2 separate regions of the Homo sapiens genome follow, and region 1 is linked to region 2. The links are contacts of gene promoters, found by promoter capture Hi-C in blood cells and fetal thymus (Javierre and others, 2016). All regions are on one chromosome and are shown on one strand. Each heading gives the region's core, a stretch centred on a gene start or on the middle of the fragment in contact. The rest is flanking DNA. Distances are from core to core; before and after follow the strand shown.

Region 1 (4,777 bases), core at 1,613-4,112, 130 kb after region 2:
ACCCCTCACTGGGTTTTAAGAGCTGGAAGGGTGGGCGTTCAATGGGAGAATATTTGGAAGAGAGGCTTTCAGGTTAAGTTGTTTGGGAGAAAATGGAAATCTCTGAAGAGACCTGAAGGAGGCGGTTGGGAGTGTTCTGGACGATTTGTGGGTCATTGCAGATTGCCGGCCGTATCTTTGGTGTGTATTTTTTGAGGCCTGAGTGTGGAGAAGATATATTTGGGAGCAATCTTCCGACAAAGTTGGAATTCAGAATCGTGGAGGGGATGTTCTGGGCAGACAGAAAAGGGTGTAATCTATGAACCTCAGGGGTAAAGAAAAGGAGAGGAGGTGCCGGGTGCGGTGGCTCACACCTGTAATCCCAGCACTTTGGGAGCCCGAGGCGCGCGGATCATGTGAGGTCACGAGTTCGAGACCAGCCTGGCCAACATGGCGATACCCCGTCTCTACTAAAAATACAAAAAAATTAGCCGGGCGTAGTGGCGGGCGCCTGTAATGCCAGATATCCGGGAGGTTGAGGTAGGAGAATCACTCGAACCCGGGAGCCGGATGTTGCAGTAAGCCGAGATCGCGCCATTGCACTCCAGCATGAGCAACAGAGCGAGAATCTGTCTCAAAAAAAAAAAAAAAAAAAAGAAAGAAAGAAAGAAAAGAAAAGGAAAAGGAAAATACTTTTAATTAATTAATTATTAATTTTTGAGACCGAGTCTCACTCTGTCGCCTAGGCTAGAGTGCAGTGGCACGATCTCGGCTCACTGCAATCTCTGCTGCCCAGATTCAAGCCATCCTCCTGCCTCAGCCTCCCTAGTAGCTAGGATTACAGGCGCCTGCCACCGCGCCCGGCTAATTTTTGTAGTTTTAGTAGAGATGGGGTTTCACCATCTTGGCCAGGCTGGTCTGGAACGCCTGACCTCATGATCCAACCGCCTCGGCCTCCCAAAGTGCTGGGATTACAGGTGTGAGCCACCGTGCCAGGCCAAAATTTTTTTTTTTAGAGATGGGATCTCACTATGTTGCCCAAGCTGGTGTTGGGCACCTGGCCTCCAGCGATCTTCCCGTCTACATTTCTTTTTATAAGAGTTTTGGAAAAAATTGACGAGATTGCTATTTAATTTGGAGGGTCTGCTTTAAAGTAGATTAAATATTTCCTGAAATTGGGTTCTGGTGTGGATTTGGAGACTGGCATATTAGGAAGTCATGAGTATCTTATTAGATTCGGGGGTTTGGACAGGGGATCCCCAACAAATTAGAGGACTTGTTATTTGGATGTTTATATTAGAGCAAGAGTAATATTTGCACTAATTGCAACATCCCTGTTAGTGGATTGGGAGATAGATGTGATATAGAAAGGGATGATTTAGCATATATTAATTTGGGGGGCCAACAAGGCTCTGTGGTTCCTTAAACTCTTGAAGAAACATGGGCTGCCTATCAGGTGGGGCTGGACTGCAGGGGAGAACTATGCTGGTTAGAGTAGGAGATGCCTTGGAATCTGAGGAGATGCTATCCACAGCACCAATCTTGCGGGGGTTTGGTGGGAGAGGCAGTGTAGATCCCTTGGGGGTTCTTGTGAGAGAAGTGCTGTTTGTTTCCCTGGACTCTGGGAGGCCAGTAGTGACGAGATGTCCAGTGAGGTTTTGGAATGGTTTGGGGTCTCGCGATGTTGGGGTTGGGGGATTAGATGGGATGGAATAAGGGGTCCCTGAGAACTAGAGAGATAAACTGGTAAATTTAAGTCTGTCTTTAATTGTAGAGGGGTCGGAATAGAAGTATACTGTGGAAAGTGAAGTTCACAGAGAAACAGCGTGAACCAGGGAAGTTGGTGGCTAAGAGGGTCTCCCCTCACCCCTCTCTCCCAACGTGACGCTCTTCCTTACTGCGCAGGCGCCGTCACCCCCCCCCCCCCCCCGCCGCAGCCTCCAGTTGCCGCGGCCGCCGCAGCCCCCGCCCCTCTGCCCCTCCCCCTCCCCCAACCCCCGGGACCCTTGATATCCCACCTACCCCCTTCCCTCAGTCCCCCTCCCCTTCTCCATGTCGGCTCGGAACAGATTCGCCTCCATGTGTCTCTGCGTGGTACGTGCCGCGGTATGGGCTCCGGCCCGCTCCCCCTTCCCGGACCCCCGCAAATATCAGGGTGCAAGCTTCAAGCGCTGTCGCTCTTCCTTCTGCTTGGTGCGGGGTCTCTGGGTTGCAACTTCTCGTGGACAGGCGCCGTGGGTCGCCCCTCTTATCATTCACTTTGACTCACACCCCTATGTTTTGGGGGTGCAAGCCTCAGTTCCAGGTCATTCTGTGCAACTGGGGCTCTGGTGAGGAGGGGGCCAAAGGGGAAGGAACAACAGCGACTCCGTCCGTGTCCCCCATTCCCCAGGCCTTTTACTTGTTTTAAGCCCTAATATATTGGGGGTGCAGATATGTCCCAGTAGCATCTGAGTTGTCTGGGTTAGGGCCCTGAGTCCCAGTAGGATAAAGGATGGGGGGGGTCCTCCTTTCCCGTCCTGCTTTAGTTGCCCTGTAATCCAAGACTGAGAGGTGCTGATCCCCCACCGCCCCAGCCCCCCAGTCTGCAGTTTCAGAATTACTCTCCCCCGCCCCCACCCCCACCCCTCCCGACGTTTCTCCCCGCCCCCCTACATGTACGTCGAAAATTTCCAGAGACTGAACCTAGTCCCTAACCTCTTCCAGCCACATTCTGGAAACCCTGGCACCCATTTCTTGTTCCCCATTTTCTCCATGTTGCCTCCCAATCCTGAGGAGCCTTTTCTTCAGTGCCAGACACCACCCTCCCTCCATGGGGGTGGGGCAGGGAGAGGTATTGGGGGCTCGCTGAGATAAAAGTTTACCTTCATTTCCTCCCTAGAATAAATGATGAAATGGCCCTCCTCATGTTTCCATTTTCTTTGGGTGCACGCTGACATTTCCTCCTCAGATTCAGGAATTTTCTCTCTGAGGTGGAGTGAAGATGGAGAGGCACTGGACTCAAACCCTCCCCCAGACTCCAAAACTTGGAGCTTTGGTCCTAATTTACCTTGCAGGGAATTGGAGGCCTTGTGAAGGAAGAGTGGATAGCGGAGAGCGGCTTCCACCCCTTCCCCCAGGTCTCAATTCTGGGGCTTGCCCCTCAGCTTGTGCACTGCCCAGGTAGAAGACCACCTTCTCAGGATGTGGAATGAACAGTCTCTGTTGGTTCATAGAACTCCTTTATTCAAGACAGCTCAGCCTTGGAGGAGGGCTATTTTGTGTGTTCTCCTATTTTCCTTCTCTACTTTTTGTGCCCATCGGATTGAAATCTGGAGTTCAGGATTCTCTCCAAGTCTGTGGCCCAGAGAATAGACTCAATCTTGCTGAGCCCGTTTTCCTTCTTTAAGACTCTTTAAATGTATCAGGGTGCTTCTTGATTTGAGTTGTCTCTGTGTTCTGGGTTTGAGAGTTTTCGTGCTGACAGGACCACTTCCCTTCTCCCATTCTCTTACTGTACCCTTACTCTACAGCCAAAGTTGTGTTATATTCTCAGCCTTGATTCATCATCTTTAACATTTTCAGAATCCTACTCAAGGATTGGCCATTGACCTTGATAAGCTTCCTCCCATTTGATCTCGCAGCTGCTGCCCTCTAAGTATTAGGGCACTCTCAGCCTCTCAGAAACTTTTGGGAGGGAAATTCTGCTCGCCCTCTCTCTTTTTTGTTTTGGAGATGGAGTCTCACTCTGTCGCCAGGCTAGAGTGCAGTGGCATGATCTCGGCTCACTGCAACCTCCGCTTCCCAGGTTCAAGCAATTCTCCTGCCTCAGCCTCCCATGTAGCTAGGATTACAGCCATGTGCCACCACGCCCAGCTAATTTTTGTATTTTTAGTAGAGATGGGATTTCACCATGTTGGCCAGGCTGGTCTCTGACCTCAGGTGATGTACCCACCTCGGCATTATAAGCATCAGCCACTGCTCCTGGCCTCTCTCTCTTTTTGAGACAGGGTCTTACTCTGTTGCCCAGGCTGGAGTGCGGTGGCGTGATCATGGCTCACTGCAGCCTCCACCTCTTGGGCTCAAGCAATCCTCCCACCTCAGCCTCCTTAGCAGTTGGGACTACAGGTGTGCACCACCATGCCTGGCTAATTTTTGTATTTTTTGTAGACAGGGTTTCACTGTGTTGCCCAGGCTGGTCTCCAACTCCAGCTCCTGGGCTCAAGCTGTCTGCCTGCCTCAGCCTCCCAAAGTGCTGGGATTGCCGTGCCTTCTCTTTTTACCCATGTGTACTGGGCGGTGCATTCTGTCTTCTTCAGTTCCTGAGGGATCCCTGCGTATGATACCTTCCCCTTCCTGAACCTGGAGCTTGGAGGGTCAGTCTCTGTGGAGGCCCGTTCCAGAGGAGAGGAGCAGGCGAGGGCAGAGGCGGACACGGAAGGACCCAGGCAGAAACGCTGTCTTCTTCTGCTGTCTCCATCTGCCCTTTTCCTCCTTCTCTGGCCCCCAGTTAATCTCATTTTACTGTTGTCCCTATTAAGCTAGCACAGGAGGCCCTTGGGATGGCAGCTGATTAACTGGGCAGGGAGTCAGGGGTCATGTTGGGCCTTTCACCCCAAAAGAGCAGAGGGAGACCAGAAATTCACTCTGAGGCTCAGCATGCTACCCTCCTCCCCAACCAGGGAGGCTGGCACCCATTCTTGCCCCTGTCCTGAGCCCTGCTGTCTCTGTTCTTCCCCTTCCTCCCCCAGCCCATGCCCTTATAGCATAACCGGATTAGCTGGCTGGGCTGTGGGCTGTTGCAGGGGTAGGGCCAGAC
Region 2 (5,358 bases), core at 977-3,476:
GGTAACATAGGGAGACCCCATCTCTACAAAAAATAAATTTAAATTTAAAAAAGCCAGGCGTGGTGGCATGTGCCTGTAGCACAGCTACTGGGGAGGTTGAGGAGGGAGGATCACTTGAGCCCAGTATTGAAGCATCTGGGATCACAGCTGTGGCCACTCCATCCAGTCCATTGTTTAAAATTATTATTTGTAGGCCGGGTGCGGTGGCTTAAGCCTGTAATGCCAGCACTTTGGGAGGCTGCGGCAGGTAGATCATTTGAGGTCAGGAGTTCAAGACCAGCTTAGCCAACATGGTGAGACCCTGTCTTTACTAAAAATACAAAAAGAAAAAAAATTATCCAGGTGTGGTGGTGCACACCTGTAATCCCAGCTACTTGGGAGGCTGAGGTAGGAGAATCACTTGAACCTGGGAGGTGGAGGTTCCAGTAAGCCGAGATCGCACCACTGCACTCCAGCCTGGGTGACAGAGCGAGACTCCATCTCAAATAAATAAAAATAAAAATAAAATTATTATTTGTAGAGATGAGGTCTCACCATGTTGCCCATAAAACAATGTTGCCCACTAAATTTGTGACAATTTGTTACACAGCAATAGAGAACTAATATATAGCAAGCAAATACATAATGTGTCAGAGGTAAATGTTGCAGAGAAAAGTAAAGCGAAGTAAGGGGAATGAGAGAGCATTTGAGTGTGTATTTGTGTGAACATGCTGTTTGATAGAGTGCTCAGGGGACACCTTACTGTCTTGAATTGAAACGTTTCACTGGTTTGTCTTCTAGTCAGCCTTTGGGCTCCGTGGGAGCAGAAATGATCTTGTCCTCCCTGAATGCCCAGGGCCTGGCACAATGCAGGAGCTCAAGAGCAGAACAAGGAAGTCCAAAATTAAGTCTTTTTTTTTTTGACACAGAGTCTCGCTCTGTCGCCTAGCCTGGAGTGCAGTGGTGCGATCTTGGCTCACTGCAACCTCCGCCTCCCAGGTTCAAGTGATTCCTCTGCCTCAGCCTCTTGAGTAGCTGGAGCTACAGATGGGTGCCACTAAGCCTGGATGATTTTTGCATTTTTAGTAGAGATGGGGTTTCGCCATGTTAGCCAGGCTGGTCTAGAACTCCTGACCTCAGGTGATCCATTCACCTTGGCCTCCCAAAGTGCTGGGATTACAGGCATGAGCTACCATGCCTGGCCCAAAAGTAAGTCTTGTTTTCCAAGATCCTGAGCTTCTTGTCGGTACAGAACCACCTTTTTTGCTTCTCTGCAGTCTCCAAAATATCTCCCCTACACAGTATTCAATAATCCCTGGGATGCATTCTGTGTCTCCAGCTTTCTCCCTGGCCCTACCCCTCTCAACCTAATCCACTCCTGGGTCACCTCTCCATGTCAGGGTCACCTTTTCCAGACGGGTCTCCAATTCTGACACTTCGGCTTCCACCAGCTCAATAGAGGCTCTGGGAAAGAGGGGGTCATGGGAAGAGAGCTTGGGTCCATCTGGTCTGTCTGCCTCATCAGGCGGGATGGAGTCGCAGGGCGGTGGGTACGGAGGAGAAAGCTGCAGAGTTGAGAGGCTCGCCCCCCACCCACCTACTTGTGCTCTGCCCGCTCTGCAGTCTGGGAGCTACCACAGCCCAGGCCAGAGCAGGAAGGGTAGAAGGAGGGTGGATGTGGCCAGGGCAGGAAGTTGCTAACCGCCCCAGAGCAGGTGCTGGGGGAGGGGCAGGGGTCCCACTGAGAGGCCAGAGGGAATGCCAGCTCTAGGGGTGAGGGAAACTGCAGAGGCCAGGAGGAGCATGCAGGGGCAGAGAGCATTGGAGTACCCTGCTTTCACAGCTGGGGTACCACTTTGGCCCACAGGCTCGCTCCTGCCTCTTAGAGGCCTGCTCCCTGGAAGGAGACCTGGCCTGGGGAAAGGTGTGTGTGTGCTGGGGGTGTTAGACTTTCCCCTCCTTAGCCCCCCAGACCAGTTCACACTTACCGGAAACGGGGTGAGTCCTTGAGACACTCCTCGAAATCCAGCTTGACCGTCATCTCAGCTTGCCTGCTGTGGGGCCAGCGGGCCCTGGAGGCCGGGCCCCTGGGGATGCAGGTGGAGGCACTTTCTGTCCCAGGAAGGGGAGATGAGGGGGAAGGAGGAGAGGGACCTCCGCGGGGAAGGGCCTGGGGGCACAATTCTTTCCCCAAGGGGAAAGGGGTGTCCTAGGAGGAGCTCTCACCCCACACTTCCAGGCAGTGCTGGGAGGGGCAGGGGCGGGGCCTGGGCGGAGGATGGGGGCCTGAGATCAGAGAAGCCACAGCCCCACCCTCAGAGACGATCTGCCAGCTCCTTCCTCCTGGGGCTCTAGCCTCTGTTTCTTTCTCTCTTCGTGGTTATCTTGGGGGCCTGGCAGATCTAGGTTCAAATCCTGGCTCTGTCACTTAGAGGTTATGTGCCCCTGGACGAGCTCTCTGATTCCTCAGTTTTCTCATCTGGAAGATGGGAATGATAACCCCTTCCTCCAGGGCTGTACGAAGTGAAGAAGGTGATAGCAGTAAATTCATGGTTCACTAAATTTATTTATTTATGAGACGGAGTCTCCCTCCATCGCCCAGGCTGCAGTGCAGTGGCGCGATGTCGGCTCACTACAACCTCCGCCTCCTGGGTTCAAGCAATTCTCCTGTCTCAGCCTCCCGAGTAGCTGGGACTACAGGCTCCTGCCATCATGCCCGGCTAACTTTTTGTATTTTCAGTAGGGACGGGGTTTCACCTTGTTGGTCAGACTTGTCTCGACCTCCTGACCTCAGGTGATCCACCCACCTCGGCCTCCCAAAGTGCTAGGATTACAGGCGTGAGCCACTGTGCCCAGCTGGTTCACTATATTAATTGCATCAGTCATTGTCATCCTGCTACAGCTTGGGCCTGCTCCTGTGGAGTCCAGTACCCCGGACTGCTCCCAGCTTTCTTCGTTTTGCCGTCATATTCATGGTTCCTGTGTGTGAACTCCCCTTCCTCCTCCCCTCTCCTCAACGACTGAGCAGGCCCAGCCTGAGCACCCGATTCACAGCTCCCAGACTCTTGCTCTTCTGCTCTTTATTTCTATTCATAGGGTGGTCATGAAGGGAAGGTTGCCCCCACTCCGCCCCCAACCAGCCCCATTTTCCATTGTTTGCTTTCCTTTTCTTGAGTCCATTGAAGTCCCAGGGTTTCATCTGGAGAGAAGAGTTTGAGTTCATGGCTTTCTCGTAGCAGGCATGAGATCTTGTCCATGTGACTCTGGATCCCCTAGAACCTCCCCACTCAGCTCCTCTACCTCCCTGGCCAGTGTATGCATCCCCTTGCCTCTGCCCAGGCTCAGTGTGCCAGGCTGTGCTTGTTCTGGCTTGAGGAGTTGGGGTTGCTTCCACTCTCCCTCTCTGAACTCCTTGGGCTTTGCCAGCTCAGCCCCCCAGCCACCAGCTGGACACCACTTGAGACTCACTGTCTTTGGAGGACAGAGAAATACCTGGAGTGGGGTGGTGTGGCAGAGGAGTGAAGGAGGAGGCATGGAGCCAGTGTGTGGTGCCAAGCTGGAGGGGGTCCCAACCGCCTCTGAGTCTCCCTGGTTCCTCGCCTGTCCAATGTGGACCTTGGACTTGAGGCTGTTCAGGGCCTCTCCTTCCACCTGTTGCTGATGTACTGGCCTGAAAGAATTGGAGGGCTGGGAGATGGGAGCTTGCCAAGAGACAGCCCCAGGGAGATGGTGGCCTGGTGCCCTCAACAGGCTGCAATGTTGTCATTGTTGCCATCAGGGAGCTCTCCGTGGCCTTGTGATCCCTAAAGGGGCCTCCCATGTGGTCCAGTAGGTGGACTTCAGTGCTTACGGGGTTCTCAATCACCTAGGTCAAGCTTGTGGAGCCTAGAATCAGGGATCAGGGCTCGGGTACCCATCAGGCTGTGCATTCCCAGCCCTCCTGCCCCCTAGGCTGGCCTGCCCAGGTTCTCACCATCCTGATGCTCATCTTCCACGTCCTCTACAAGCTCTGGGTGGGAGCAGGACCTCAGGTATAGTCCTTTGCCATCATATTCCTTGTGCTGCAGAGCAATCTCCTGCCCCAATATGATAGTGGCCACAGCTGGGGGGACTGATTTCTGTAGGTGGAGGAATCTGAGGAATCAATCAAATGAATCCAAGTCTTCTAGCCATCTGGTGTATCCATGCCTCCCAGGTGTCTGTTGTGGGCCCTCACCAGAGGGGAGAAGCTCAGGCCCCAGATCCTCATCTCACTGACTTCTCTTACCCTTCCCATTTTAGAAAAACTTCAGTGACCGCTCCACCTCCCCCCATGGTTGTCTCGGACTTTTGTTTATTTTTTTATTTATTTTTTGAGACAAGATCTTGCTATGTTACCCAGGCTGGAATGTGTTAGTGCCATCATCGCTCACGGCAGCCTCAAACTCCTGGGCTCAAGCTATCCTCCCACCTTAGCCTCCCCAGTAGCCTGGACTACAGGTGCACGCCACCACACCTGGCTAATTAAAAACAATTTTTTTCTTTTTCTTTTTTTGTAGAGATGAGGTCTCCCTACGTTGCCCAGGCTGGTTTTGAACTTCTGGCCTCAAGCAATCCTCCCAAAGTGCTGGGATTACAGAAGTGAGCCACTGGGCCTGGCCAACAAATCAGCCCCCAATCAGACTTTCTGTTCCTCAACAGCCAATAATCTCCGGGGACTATCCTGAGTGGGGTCCTTCCTCCAGCTGCCCTCTTTCTTCCCTGGGGTTACTTCCCAGCATTACCTCCCTGTCAGGCAGCAGAGTCTTGGGCTGATAGCCACTGAGGAAGACAGACTGTGGTAGAGAAGTGAGGAACGGGCTCTGGAATACAACCCCCTCTAGTCCCTGGAGCCCCGCCATCGCTAACCCTCGGCTTCAAGGATGTGCCTCCAGGTGACCAGGCCTGGCTCATCTTTGGCTCCTCTGGCTAGTTCTCCTGCCAAGCCTCTCTGCACAGGCCTGGGCTCTGGGTCCAGCATCACGCCTTGACTGCCACCGCTGATACTGATAATACCACCATTGTCATCCTCATCCTCTTCATTCTCCAAGGGCTGGTTTTTCTGAGCCTTGAGAAACTTCCCTTTGTCATAGTGTGCCTTGCGGCGCTTGTCAAAGTCGGTGGAGTCTGTGACCATGGTGAGAGCTTGGCTTTCCCACCGCACTCTTGCCAAAGGCTCGCTCCACCTCCCCCTTTCCATTCAATCCACAACCCTCATCTCATGTTGTGGGCGAAAGATTACCTAGGTGCCAAGGTAAGAGACTGAAGGCACAAACTGTTTCAGTATAATAAAGAAATAGTTAGAATAAGAATAGTCATAATACAAATTAGATATAGAGATGATCATGGACAATTATCAAT

What was found. The method cuts DNA at HindIII sites, captures the fragments that hold promoters and counts their contacts. A CHiCAGO score of 5 or more calls a contact.
Region 1: a fragment that was not itself captured here is called in contact with the fragment with the promoter of ACAP1 in region 2 in 8 of 17 cell types (naive CD4 T cells, total B cells, naive B cells and 5 more); the score reaches 7.1 in naive CD4 T cells.

The regions. Positions count from the first base shown.
Region 1 is chr17:7,208,954-7,213,730 of GRCh38, reverse strand. The region is part of intron 1 of DLG4 (discs large MAGUK scaffold protein 4); the gene reads left to right. Among named protein-coding and RNA genes, the nearest start is that of DLG4, 6.3 kb to the left of the region's middle. RefSeq lists enhancers at 1,673-2,187, 2,188-2,702. The HindIII fragment of the contact is 1,438 bases long and covers 2,144-3,581 here.
Region 2 is chr17:7,333,397-7,338,754 of GRCh38, reverse strand. ACAP1 (ArfGAP with coiled-coil, ankyrin repeat and PH domains 1) reads right to left here and starts at 2,226. Exons shown (of 22, transcript NM_014716.4): 1 at 1,968-2,226; 2 at 1,386-1,443. The coding sequence starts at 2,020. RefSeq lists enhancers at 1,260-2,021, 2,022-2,783 and a silencer at 2,155-2,364. The HindIII fragment of the contact is 9,667 bases long and covers 1-3,856 here.